Linked DNA regions of Homo sapiens: regions 1, 2 and 3 are each linked to region 4. The links are contacts of gene promoters, found by promoter capture Hi-C in blood cells and fetal thymus (Javierre and others, 2016). All regions are on one chromosome and are shown on one strand. The core of a region is centred on a gene start or on the middle of the fragment in contact, and the rest is flanking DNA. Distances in the headings are between cores, read along the strand shown. Region 1 holds the start of MIOS-DT (MIOS divergent transcript). Region 2 has its middle 1.7 kb from the start of C1GALT1. Region 3 overlaps RPA3 (replication protein A3). Region 4 holds the start of COXFA4 (cytochrome c oxidase associated subunit FA4).

Region 1 (3,282 bases), core at 783-3,282, 3.4 Mb before region 4:
CACTCAACTCAGTAAATATTTTTTGGATACCTATGCAACAGGTGCTAAGGGAAATCCAAAGTTCCATGCTAAAAGATTGCTACCTGCAAGGATCTTGGTTTAGTAGAGAAGGGGAATCAGTTTCCAAAAAGACTGAGAAAGGTGTCACTTATTCCTGTGAGGGGCTTTAGAAGAATTAGTGGCAATATGAAAAAATATATACTTTCACAAAGCTTGAGTGGAAAAGAAAGTTGAAAAAGGGACATTAGCTGGAGGAGGATGTAGAATAAATACGTTGTTTTAGGATTTATTCAATACATTTTTATTTACCACATTTATTAGGTACTGTTTTACATCCTGGTGATTAAGCAGAGAATAAAATAGACAGAGCCCCTCTGTTTTAATTAGGGAATTGGCTAAGCTGCTCTACCAGGTCCAAACAAACAATGATTTTTTAAAGAACAAAGTTTATTTTCTCTTGCATAATGGTCCAGAAGTCTGTGGTTGATCCAAGGGAGGAGGTGCCCCAGCTCCCTGAGATTAGTTTGGGACTTAGGCTAGTGAGAACAGCTTTGCCTTCCTTAATACATGGCTTCCATTTCCAGTCTGTATTTCTTTTTGCCATTTGCCAGACAGCAAGAAGAGGGAAGAGAAAGTGTATAGCAAGCAGCTTTCCTTTTAAGGGACATGATCCAGTTCTACTCACATCTTACAGGACATAACTTTTTGATATAGCCTTACCTTGCTGAAAGGGAGGCCAAGGAATGTCATGTCTAAGTAGGTCACCAAGTGCCCTGCTCAAATTTGAATGTAGAGTTATTTCCTCTTACTAAAAAGAAAAAAAATACAGAATGAAAACTGGAGATAAGGAGAAGACACAGTCTAGAAGATAACTATAGGAAAGTAAAGAGATGGCGACGTATGTGAAGTTGTGGTGTCATAAAGACAACAACAAAGGAGCTAATTTATAGGTAGTCAGTGACAAGTGAGCAGTCTTGAGTAAAGGGAGAGTATGAGTCATGTAGATTTCTGCATTCCAGACAGAGGGAATAGCTAGTGAAGAAGCCCTGAGGCAAGAGCATGCTTGTCATGTTTAAGGAACAGTGAAGTCACAGGGATAAAAGACAAACCAGAAGAAAGTGATGATATGCAACAAAGTGAATGAGACATGTCAAGAGAGGAAGTAGTCAAGAACAACAGAAGTTGCAAGAGTGAAGCTTTGGCCATTGAAACTGGCAGCATGGAGCTCACAGGTGACCTTGACAAGTGGCAGTTTCGTGGCATGGTGGGCATGAAGGACTGAATGGAGTGAATTCAAGGGAGAGAGGGGGAAGTGGAATTACAGAGAGCAAATATGATCCTCTCCTTTGAAGAGAAAATGGGAATAACTTGAGTATGTGTTGAAAGTAAAGAACCAGTAGAAATGGAGAGGCAAAGATACATGGAAGTGAAGTAATTGATGGTGCAAGGTCCCAGAAGAGGAGATATACATGGGGTTCCTCCTCTTACTCTTTGTCACCTAAAAGAAGGTAAGAATGGTAGTGAATCAAGATGTTGGAGGAGGGAAGGAGGAAGCAGTGGGAGGTTGTGCAAATTCTAGCTAATAGTTTTAATTTTCTTTTCTGAAGTAGGAGGCAGTGTCATCTCCTGAGTGCAAGCAGAAAAGTTGTCCTCAACTATGTATAGTAGGAGTGGATAAGGAAGAGATTTGTATTGATCTGAGGTTTTGTGTGGGGGTTTGAGGCCAGGGTCAAAACCACTGAGAAGATTGGCAAGATAGTGTTTGAAGTGATGAATACTGTCATGTCTCCTCTCAGTAATACAGCACTTTCTTCAGCCTACATTCTTCTAATGGCAGGATTGGAAAGGCAATACTTTCCCCAAACTCATCATCTTATCAAAACCATCTGCCACCAAGATCATCAGGACTAAGCTCATTATGCTGTTTACAGCCATCACCACCACAAGCCCAAGACCACCCACTTTTAATCATGAACAGACAAGCAAAGACTGTCAGACATCTGAAGACTGCCTCGAGGTCAGACTCGTGACACCTGAGGCAGCACCATTCACTCAGTTTTGGGAACAAAAAACTTGGAATCCTCTTTCACCGTCATTCACTTGGTCAGTCACCAAGCTCTGTTCATCCCGCCTTCTAAGTATTCCCCAGGGCCCCCACTTCTCTCCATGCCCACTCTCCGTGCCACTGGTAACCTGCGTTTCTATCATCCCTCATTCTGATACTCTATCCCTCCAGCTCTCTGCGCAAAAACTGATCATACTGGCCGGGCACAGTGGCTCATGCCTGTAATCCCAGCACTTTGGGAGACCGAGGTGGGCGCATCACGAGGTCAAGAAATGAGACCACCCTCGCCAACATGGTGAAACCCCATCTCTCCTAAAAATACAAAAAATTACCTGGGCGTGGTGGCGCGCGCCTGTAGTCCCAGCTACTCGAGGTGCTGAGGCAGGAGAATCGCTTGAACCCGGGAGGCGGAGGTTGCAGTGAGGAGAGATCGCGCCATTGCATTCCAGCCTGGCGATATAGCCAGACTCCGTCTCAAAAAAAACAAAACAAAACAAAAAACTGATCATACCACTTGCCTGATTAAAAACTTTCGATGACTCTAACATTGCCTTTAGGTAAATGCCATCCAAACTCACTAAACTGGTTTCCAACCCGTTTCTGAAAGCACCTTAATCTCTCCCCACTTCCTCTGCTCATTCATCCATACCTACTGCCTCCTCACTGCTATGTCCTCTCTCCTGACCCGGCACTTGCTCTTTCCCAGTCCTAGAAGGCTCTTCTCTTCCAGTTCCCACTGCCCTTTTCCCTTTCCTGGCTAATCCCATACTCATCCTTCTTGTCTCAACCTAGTGGTCCTTAAGGAAGCTTTGCTGACCCCCGACACCGAGCGGGCGTCCCTCCTGTGTAGCACTGTGTTAGCCCTACCAAGTCAAGGCTCTCCTTGCCTGTTTCCTGCCGGAACCATGTCTTTTTACTTCACTCCTGTCTCCTCAGCATTCCAGCACAGTGCTGGGTACATAACAGGTGCTCAAGACAAGTTTGTGGAATGACTAATGAGTGAATAAATCATTAACCAAACACCTTGGATCTCCTACTACATCATTTGCAAAAAAAAAAAAATGTTTAATAGAAATTAAAATGGACCCAGTGAGCTAGAGTGTGTGACCCTGCTTAAAAACGACAGAGTGGTTCTGAGAAGCAGTCCCAGCCTAGGAACCCGGGGATCCGGCCTGTGGACCCACGGGCAGGGCCTGCGGGGTGCACCGGCGCTTTCG
Region 2 (2,856 bases), core at 287-2,786, 3.8 Mb before region 4:
TAATATATTTGTAAAATGTAGGTATTTAAAGGGAAACTAAGTCTATTAAAGAAGACAATGTTTTAATGTTGTTGCTAGCTTGTTTGCATTTTCTGTCACCATTTTCACCTCATTCTGTCTATTAAAAAATTCTATATATAGTGCTAAATAAATGATGACTTGGCCTATCTTATTATGTCAACTAAGAATTGCATTTGATACTTACAACAGACAATAACAAAATCTTATATAGAAGGGATATAATCTTCCTCACCTAACAACAAATCCAGAAGTGGATAGTCCAGACCTGGTAAGTTGGCCCTCCAAAGCAACCATGGACCTAGGCACCTCTGGTGTCCTACACTATTAATAGTGTCTGTGTGGCTTTTGTTATTATGGGTGAAATATGGCTGTTCTACCTCCAGTATCATGTCCCTGTTTCAGGTTCAAAAAAAAAAAAAAAAAAGGGATGGGTGCATATCAAATGGCTAAAGCGATATTTCTTCCATAAAGCTTTCCTTGAGTCTCCTCTACAGAAATTCACTTTTATTTAATTGATGGTCACATGGCCAGCCATGACTTATGAAAGTCTAGGGGCATGAATATTTTTAACTGGCCACATTGTCACCCTGAAGAAATCAGAGTTCTACTAGTAAAGAAGAAAGGATTTTGGTTTAGACAACTAGTAATGTCTACCGACCTACTCCAACGAGTTTTGACATGCATTATTAAACACTAGACACAAGAGAAACAACAATACTGAGGTTTATGTGTGTTTCAAGTATGTTTCAAATGGGAGAATCTGGTCAGTTTTGAGTCCCACATATAAAGTATATTTTTCAAAGTAACCACAATTTTTATTCTCTAATTGAAAATGTCGAAGAATTGGCTGACATTAATGTCACTTCTAGGAATGTGTTCAAGGAGATAATTGCACAATTGTGCAAAAGCCTATGGATAAGAATGTTCATCAGAGACTTTTTTTATGGTAGTAAAAACTTGGAAACATAAATGTCAATCAATAGAATACTGGTTGGATAAATGATGGTATATCCATTTAACAGACAGTATGCAACTTTTAAAAATGATGTTATTCATGACTGTTGTTCACTGTGCAGATAATACGATCCAATTTATGAAATATTGTATTTATATGTCTATATGTGCTTTTATTCTTAGAGAGATGCCTAGAAGAATGTAACACAAAATTTAAGAAATGGTTATCTCTATATTATGGTATTTGGACAGATTTTAACTTCTTTGCATTTTTGTTTAAATTTTTTAAATTTGTTTGCATAAGCATGTATTGTTTTTATAAAACAATAGTTATTAGCTGGGTGCCACAGCCTGTGCCTGTAATCCCAACTACTGGGGAGGCTAAGGCGGGAAGATTGCTTCAGCCTTCAGCCCAGTTATTCGAGGCTGTTGTGTGCCAAGATCACACCTGTGAATAGCCACTGCATTCCAGCCTGGGCAACATAGAAAGACCATATCTCTTCAAAAAAAAAAAAAAGCTATTTTCAAAGAAAGGCAGGGTGGGGGCAGGGCTGATTTGGTCCAGTATTGTTTCTAGCAAGTAATTTTCCAGGATAAGGCTGTGGCTGACCTTATTTTAGGAAAGGGTTCTAATCTTTGCTCAATGGAAAAAAGTGTTATTCTTTATTAATTATAACTTTTAATAAAATTAAAACGAGATAAGGAGTTGTGAGTTTTGGTTTCTATTTGGAACACTGACCCCTGAAAGAGTTCTCCTTCCATGTTTCACAATGGATGGCAAGACATTGCGGAAAGGTGGAAGGATGTTGCGGAAAGGTGGAAGGATATTGCGGAAAGGTGGAAGGATATTGCGGAAAGGTGGAGGGGGAGGAGGCTGAGCAACAACTGTATACAAGTTGGGGAGGAGTAGAGAATGGACGTAATCATGTAAGGCAGAGAAGTCTGGACCCATGAGCCAAGGAAAGAGCAATAACCTGGACATCAGGATAGCTGCACTTCTCTTCTAACATGGACCTATCAGTTTATCTTTCTGGCCTTAGTTTTGTCATCTGAAAAATGAGACATCTGTATTAGAATCACTACATGTGCTTTATGTTTCACAATTCTTTTGGATATATTGATGCAATGTCCTGAGAAACTACACTACAGCTGAACCTAAGCAAATTAAAGGAAAAATAACAATAACTAATGTATATTATTATTTGTCTCAGGCATTCTAAGTAACTTGCCAATAGGTGGAGGGACCAAGATGCCAGCCCGGGCAGTCTGATTTCAGAGCCCATACTCTTTAACAACCATGCTGTAGAGTACTAAAGAACCGCTTGGATAGGGCATTTAAAGGAAGCAGGGTAGCTTTCCTATTCTGGAACGTGGTCTTGTAGATAATGGTTAACGCCAGTAAAGACTAAACCTTACCCTCACCTCATGACTATTGTGGGGTTGCCTCAACAGGTGGCAGCCTCCTCCCCCTATTCCAAAGACAACTTCCTTATTCAGAGCCCAGCGAAAGGGGAGATAGGTTTTGTTACGCCCCTAAGAAGCTCTTCCGGCCATTGCCCCACAGAACCGAAGTGCTGACAGAACCAAAGACGAAATGTGCCTATAGAAAGCTTTCTGGTATCATTATCTCGGTTCTCAGCTCTTCCTGGTTCTCACATGATGACCCAGCACCCGTATGCATACTTCATCTTATTACTTCCTTTTATTAAGCCCAGAGAGATACTGAGTAAAGAGAGCACGGGGAGAGAACAGAAAAACAAATGAACGGGTTAAGAGCAGGCTACAGGCCACAAGAGTCCTGCAGGGTTAGAGCCTGTACCTCAGACAAAGGTCCTTCAAGCATCCCCTTTCTCGCTCCCTATTGTTACCCTGCTTTCGTCC
Region 3 (3,060 bases), core at 71-2,570, 3.3 Mb before region 4:
TGAAGCTCCGGTGCTGGTGCGGCGGGGGACTGCGGGGCCAGCCTCAGGTACCTCGTCTCGCGGGAGGCGCCGCAACCTTACTGTTTCCCCATTCTTCCCGCGAACAGAGTCAAAAGAGCTAGGCGGGAGTCGGCACTAGCTGCTGCCGCGGTGCTGTGGGTGCTGCGTACCAGCTGTTCACTGCTGTCTCGCCTTCCCTCTTGCCAGTTCTGCGTGGGAGGCGCGGGAGTTTTGCGGAATGATACGTGGTGTGGCGTCGGGGTTGTGATACCCGCCCCCTTGGAGATGGGCAGCGGGGTCATCAGTGATCTTGATCACTTTCTTCAGGCTTTTGCCACTTGTTGGCTGAGGGTCGATTTACTCCCTTAGCTGCGTCACTCTACTTTCTCCACTTTCTCCACCTGTAAGAAGAGAGATTGATCCGATTACTTCTAAGACGTTTTTTAGCCCAACCTGGCCACACTGCGGAGGCGCCGGTTCTTTCACCCCGCTAACCCCTCCGTGTTGGCAGCCAATAGAAGCACTTAAGGATGGGTAACGGGGAAGAACCACTGGCCAGTACTAGGGGAGACAAGCTTAAATCGTTGTTAGACCCCGAGCTAGGGTTCCCCGAGCTAGGGTTCTCCCTTCTGAGGCGTGTTTTCCCCATCTGCAAAACGAAGGGTTAGGCGGAATGATTTGCAAGGTCCCAGTTGACTCTGACTTTTGGCCATATGTTTGACTCAACAGTTTAAACCCCCTCAGCAGTCTTTCTGTCGTTGCCCTCCACACTGCGAGACTCTGGAGGGCGATCTGGAGGTCTGGAAGATAACCGATTCCTGGGAGATTTGGGGGTAGTCTCCAATCTGTCCCTGGCTCATCTTGTGACCCGAAGCCGGCGGCCTTGCCAGGAGTATTCTAGAATGAGTGCACATAAAAATACCTTCAAACGGTACGGTGGAAATTGGACAGAAGTTTTAATTGGGTATTATAACGTTGTGGAAACTGAGTCTGTGAATTGGCCCAAAGCTACAGAATTGTCATCGTTCAAATTCCCTTAAGCAAAAAAGATCCGATTTGAGACTTCACGTGGCAATTTAAGATTGGAATCTCATGTACGATAATTAAATGATAGTCTCCCTTAGTGTTTCCTTAGCACTTAATAGGTTTGTCTTAGTTTTACTCACTAACGGTACTTTAAAGGATTTCATTAAACAGATGTAGAATGTGTGTCAGTGGTGTATAAAAAAGTTGTGGTTGTATTGGTGCAAGTCAGTAAAGTCTATTTTATATTACAGCTTTAAGTCTTTTGTACTTTAGCATTGTTTTGCAAAGCAAGTTGATGTGCATTATATAGGGGAGAGTACACACATCAATGTCTTTAATAGCATTTTTTTTTGAGGCAAGATCTCTCTCTGTCACCCAGACTGGAGTGCAGTAGCATGCACATAGCTCACTGCAGCCTTTAACTCGTAGGCTTAAGCGATCCTCTCACCTCAGCCTGCCAAGTAGCTGGGACTATAAGCACATACCACCACACCCAGCTAATAAAGATTTTTTTTTTGTTGTTTGTTTTTTTTTGTTCAGATGGGGCCTCGCCATGTTGACCAGGCTTATCTCAAACTCCTGGGCTCAGGCGATCCCTCCCTCCCCCGTCTCCCTCCCAAAGTACTGGAATTACAGGTGTGAGCCTTGGTGCGTACCCTGTAATAGTGATTTTTTTTTTTTTTAAAGAGCACTCCTGTGAGTACCAGATGTTAATGTCGTTGTTTACCTGCAGTTAGAAAGACCACTTTTAAGCAAAGGCTTTCTTTTAAAACAGGGAGATGAGCAGGAAGATAATTTAAAACAGCTTTTTCGTGTATTTTTGAGTCACTTAAAATATTATAAAATACATGATGTACAGAAAAAAGTATAGCTAGCCGATTTGCATAGTTTTGAGAGAAATGAAATGAATCCATGGGGCCTGTCATTCAGCTGAAGAAATGGAACTTTACCAGTTACCAGTAAATTTTACCAGTTTGCACTTCCCCAATGAAGCCCTCCTTGCTACAGCCATAAGTAAACACTATCTTGAAATTTGTGTTAAGCTTCCTAAGCTTTTCTAGGTGGTTTTATCACACATGCAGGCGTTGCTAAATGGTATGTTGTTTAATATTGCCAGTCTTTGACCTTTATATAAACAGAAACGTATGTATCTTCTGACTTCTTTTGTTTGTTTTTGAGATTCATCTATGTTGACGAATGTACGTAGATCATATTTTTTTTTCTGTTACAGGTAGGCATGAGTGGGACAGTAGTGGGCTCTCCCCCAACCCACTAGAAATGTTGGGGGATGGTTTGGCAATTACCGAATTTGCTTCTCTAAAAATGATAATTCTGCAGCGCCAGGGAGAGGCCATTTCCTGATGGTCCACACCTGTTATCAAAATGTTAATTGAATGTAGACCCGAGGGAGAAACAGCTTCCTGGGCATGCATATTAAGAGACAAAAATGGTAAAGTATGATCTTCCAGGTACACTCCACCGGAAAAAGGAAGGAAGCCTCAGATGGGCGTGCATGTAACTCCCTAAAAACACTTCCCAAGGCTAAGGAGGGCTCTGTGCCTGCCGGCAGCCTATCCTAAGGAAAGAATCATGGGAAATAGACAAGCTTGTAAAAGTCCTAGGATCAGGGCCGGGCGCGGTGGCTCACGCCTGTAATCCCAGCACTTTGGGAGGCTGAAGCGGGTGGATCACCTCAGATCAGAAGTTCAAGACCACCCTGGTCAACATGGTGAAACCCTGTCTCTACTAAATATACAAAAAAGTATCCAGGCGCGATGGCGGGGGCCTGTAGTCCCAGCTACTCGGGAGGCTGAGGCAGGAGAATGGCGTGAACCCGAGAGGCGGAGCTTGCAGTGAGCCGAGATCGCGCCACTTCACTCCAACCTGGGCCACAGAGCGAGACTCCCTCTCAAAAAAAAAAAAAACAAACAAACGAAAAAAAAAGGATCAACGGTTAAATCGGACACTTGACCTACTCTCTTTAACCTTCACATTCCCGCTTGGGTCTCTAACAAGCACACCTTCCTTTCTTCC
Region 4 (3,017 bases), core at 408-2,907:
AAAAACATTTACATGTGCCGAGAACCATGATTATTTTATAAAAACAATTATTTTTATGTCAATCCTCAAAACATTACAAGATTTGGTATTAGCAGTTCTACTTTACCAAAGAGAAAACGAGACTCAGAGAAATTAGATAATTTCATGAACCAAAAAAAGTAAATGAAAACAGCAGATTTGAGATCTGAACTTATTGTATGACTGTAAATGTAACATTCTTTCTACTACCCTAATGTTATCGCCCTACAGAGACTGTGGCTCCTAAACTGCCTTGATCAGCTATCAAAGTTTTAAACATTTTTAAGTACTTACCAAACATCTGGATTGAACAATGCCAGACGCAAGAGATACAGTGTTGCTCCAGTAGCTCCAGTTCCAATAAATACAAAGAGGGGGATCAACTAAACCAAACACAAAATAGAATAACCATCTTCAAATACTTAAAACACTGGCCAACGAGAGATTACAGTAGTTTCTGCACATTGATTTCCAAGTCTCAAACTGTTATTGGACTGTTTTGTCTTAAAATTTAAATAAAGTAGATCTTACATTGAGGTAAGATTTCTTATAACTGTGTTCTAAAGAAAGAAATGGAATTTGGAAAGGATGTTAAGATGACTCTGGTTTAAGTGTCTTACTTTTTAATGTGGAGCAAATTATAGGTACATTTTTAAATTTCCAAGAAAATGTATCGAGTCTTCTTCACCTCTCTAATATTTACATGTCATTCCCATTAAATTTTCTGGCTTCCTTTATCCTGGGGCTTGAAAAACAAATTCTTTGCAAATTATTTAAGGGTGCCTCTATAAAGATGTATGAAAAATAGAATCTGAATAAGTAAACGTATCTATTACAAATACTGGCTTTAAGCATTATCTCTGAAAACGTAATGCTACCAATGCTTGCTGCGTATTTAGGGAACCGGATTTAAGACAGATTAAAGATTGCATAGACTTTTAGCTCTACAGCACATTGATGTGCTGAGGAAAAATGAGATGCCAAAGAACTTAACTGCAATTTCCACACTTCGAAATTTTCCCAAAAGCAACGACGTCCAGACAAAGTGAGGATTCCAAGATCACGGACCCCTCTTATTTACCAAAAGGCCTGGTGGTGCAATGCGGCGAATACAAGAACCTCCAGAGATGGTATAACACATAGGGAACCTGACCTATGCTAGTCTCTGACCCACACAGCGCACATCTATCCCTCCTGGACCGCACAACCTGCAAAAGAGAGCGGCCACCAGACTGTTCCAATATTCACTAACTAGAAAAAACTAGGTTTTTTTTCCGAGCAGTGTCCGTCTCCTTCCTCCTGTCAGACAAAACCCCACAATGCATGGCGTAGAGGGTCACAGAGGCCTGGGACAACTAAGATGACAAACACTAGGCGAGGCAGGGTCTGGTCTGACGGACGGTAAGTGGCTGTAAATGAGGACGTTCCCAGGGAACAGAAAGAGGCGCACCCCGACGCAAGAAGGACAAGGGAAAACATTAGGAGAGCGGTCACGAACTTACGCTCGGATGCTTCTTGGCCTGACCGATGATCTGGCGGAGCATGTTTGCGGCAGAGGTCTCCGACTGGAAAGGAGAGAACCGACCTAGCCACCAGGCCCTAAGCTAAAAATTATCTGCAATGAGACACTACGGACTTCCAAAGTCACCCAGGACCTCCTACCTGAAGGACCCTTGGCTGGGAGGGCAGCTTGCGGCAGGAGGGCCCGGATGCGACTGTCTTTAATAGTGCCTGCTTAGATCTAACCCCTCATATGTTCGTCCTGACCTGGTCGGACCATCATCATTCCACTTCATAGTGAAATGCCTTCATTGCCGTGCCATGCATATTTCTGAGGGGAATTTTTTTGGTCGAAACGAGGACTCTTCGATTGACCAGACAGGCACTTTCCAAGGGTGCCACGTACTGAGGAATGCGGTCGGAGCGTGGGCGCACGGGCCGCGCGCTCCGTGAGTAGGGGGCCTCTCCCGCGGCGCCTGAGAGCCGGGTCCGCGCGCAGAGGCCCTGGGGGCGCGCGTGCCGGGTGCGCGCTGGCCAGCTGTGACTGCCGCTGAGGGAGCTGCGCGGCGCCTCTGGGAGCCGAGCGCCGGGCGCCTGGAGGGCAGGTCGGGCCTCTTGCCGCTAAGGTCAGCGGCTGCGGTTTGAGAAGACTGCAGCTGCTTCCTGTGTTACGCTGTCGCAGACAAGCAGAAGTTAAAAACTAGTAAATGACTTAAAGGTGATAATAGTCCTGGCAGTGTATTTCTGAACCCTCAGATCCTGGCCCTCGGTTGAAAGTTCGTCGCCACAAAGACCTTTCCAACACGCCACTATCCCCCGTCCCTGGTCCCAAATTGCATCTTTAAAATGTGTTTTCAATGGTCGTGTAGCTACAGATAATCTTTCCCACTACCCCAGTCGAATTTTCATTTGTCTTTTGTTTTGTTTTCTTCGTTGTTTTTTTTACCCGAAGGACTTCCATAGGACAGGCTTTGCGGGGGAGGGTGGGGGGATTGGGATAAAATGTACACTCTGAACCCTCTCCAATCTCATACGTAGCTTAAAGCATTAATCAAATGATCAAGCAAGTATTAATAATTGGGACTAGAAATCATAGGAGAAGGCTCCACCGGAAGTTACACTAGCTCTGAAGGAGGAGCGGACATTAACCAGGTGAAAACGGAGGATGCAGGTGTACAGGGCGGAGGTAATAACACGTGAAGGTCTGAAGCTATTGAAAACCCGAGGGAGCTGTATGAGGTCTAGTGTGGCTGGAAAGTAAAAGGGAGAGCAAGGTGGGGATCAGATCTGCTGGGCCAATAACCGCTTAAACATCATGGGTTTTATGTTGAGAGCTTGGGAAGGTTGTGTTTTTAAATGATTGCTTTGTGAATAATTGATTAGAAGGGATAAGCGTGAGAGGGGAAAGACCTATCAAGGGGCCATTGCAATAGTCCATAATCTGTGTGACAGATAATGGTAGCTTGAACTAGTGTAGAGAATGTAATGATGAGAAAAAA

Evidence for each region. The method cuts DNA at HindIII sites, captures the fragments that hold promoters and counts their contacts. A CHiCAGO score of 5 or more calls a contact.
Region 1: a fragment that was not itself captured here is called in contact with the fragment with the promoter of COXFA4 in region 4 in 2 of 17 cell types (non-activated CD4 T cells and activated CD4 T cells); the score reaches 10.5 in non-activated CD4 T cells.
Region 2: a fragment that was not itself captured here is called in contact with the fragment with the promoter of COXFA4 in region 4 in 1 of 17 cell types (fetal thymus); the score reaches 6.3 in fetal thymus.
Region 3: a contact is called between a fragment that was not itself captured here and the fragment with the promoter of COXFA4 in region 4, in 1 of 17 cell types (total CD8 T cells). The highest score is 5.6, in total CD8 T cells.

The regions. Positions count from the first base shown.
Region 1 is chr7:7,563,517-7,566,798 of GRCh38, forward strand. It overlaps MIOS-DT (MIOS divergent transcript), which reads right to left and starts at 2,549. Exons shown (of 5, transcript NR_110084.1): 1 at 2,398-2,549; 2 at 721-808. RefSeq lists a silencer at 3,189-3,282. The HindIII fragment of the contact is 1,676 bases long and covers 1,195-2,870 here.
Region 2 is chr7:7,179,433-7,182,288 of GRCh38, forward strand. It overlaps a transcript of C1GALT1 not described here. Among named protein-coding and RNA genes, the nearest start is that of C1GALT1, 1.7 kb to the right of the region's middle. RefSeq lists a silencer at 2,852-2,856. The HindIII fragment of the contact is 2,093 bases long and covers 491-2,583 here.
Region 3 is chr7:7,640,775-7,643,834 of GRCh38, forward strand. RPA3 (replication protein A3) reads right to left here. Exons shown (of 8, transcript NM_002947.5): 5 at 1-401. It overlaps UMAD1 (UBAP1-MVB12-associated (UMA) domain containing 1), which reads left to right. Exons shown (of 4, transcript NM_001302348.2): 1 at 1-47. Among named protein-coding and RNA genes, the nearest start is that of UMAD1, 1.6 kb to the left of the region's middle. RefSeq lists enhancers at 1-98, 139-188, 269-438. The HindIII fragment of the contact is 1,494 bases long and covers 574-2,067 here.
Region 4 is chr7:10,938,496-10,941,512 of GRCh38, forward strand. COXFA4 (cytochrome c oxidase associated subunit FA4) reads right to left here and starts at 1,658. Exons shown (of 4, transcript NM_002489.4): 1 at 1,521-1,658; 2 at 313-401. The coding sequence starts at 1,562. It overlaps LOC107986767 (a long non-coding RNA gene), which reads left to right and starts at 1,761. Exons shown (of 3, transcript XR_001745091.3): 1 at 1,761-2,236. RefSeq lists enhancers at 1,641-1,910, 1,795-2,715 and a silencer at 1,941-2,190. The HindIII fragment of the contact is 7,174 bases long and covers 1-3,017 here.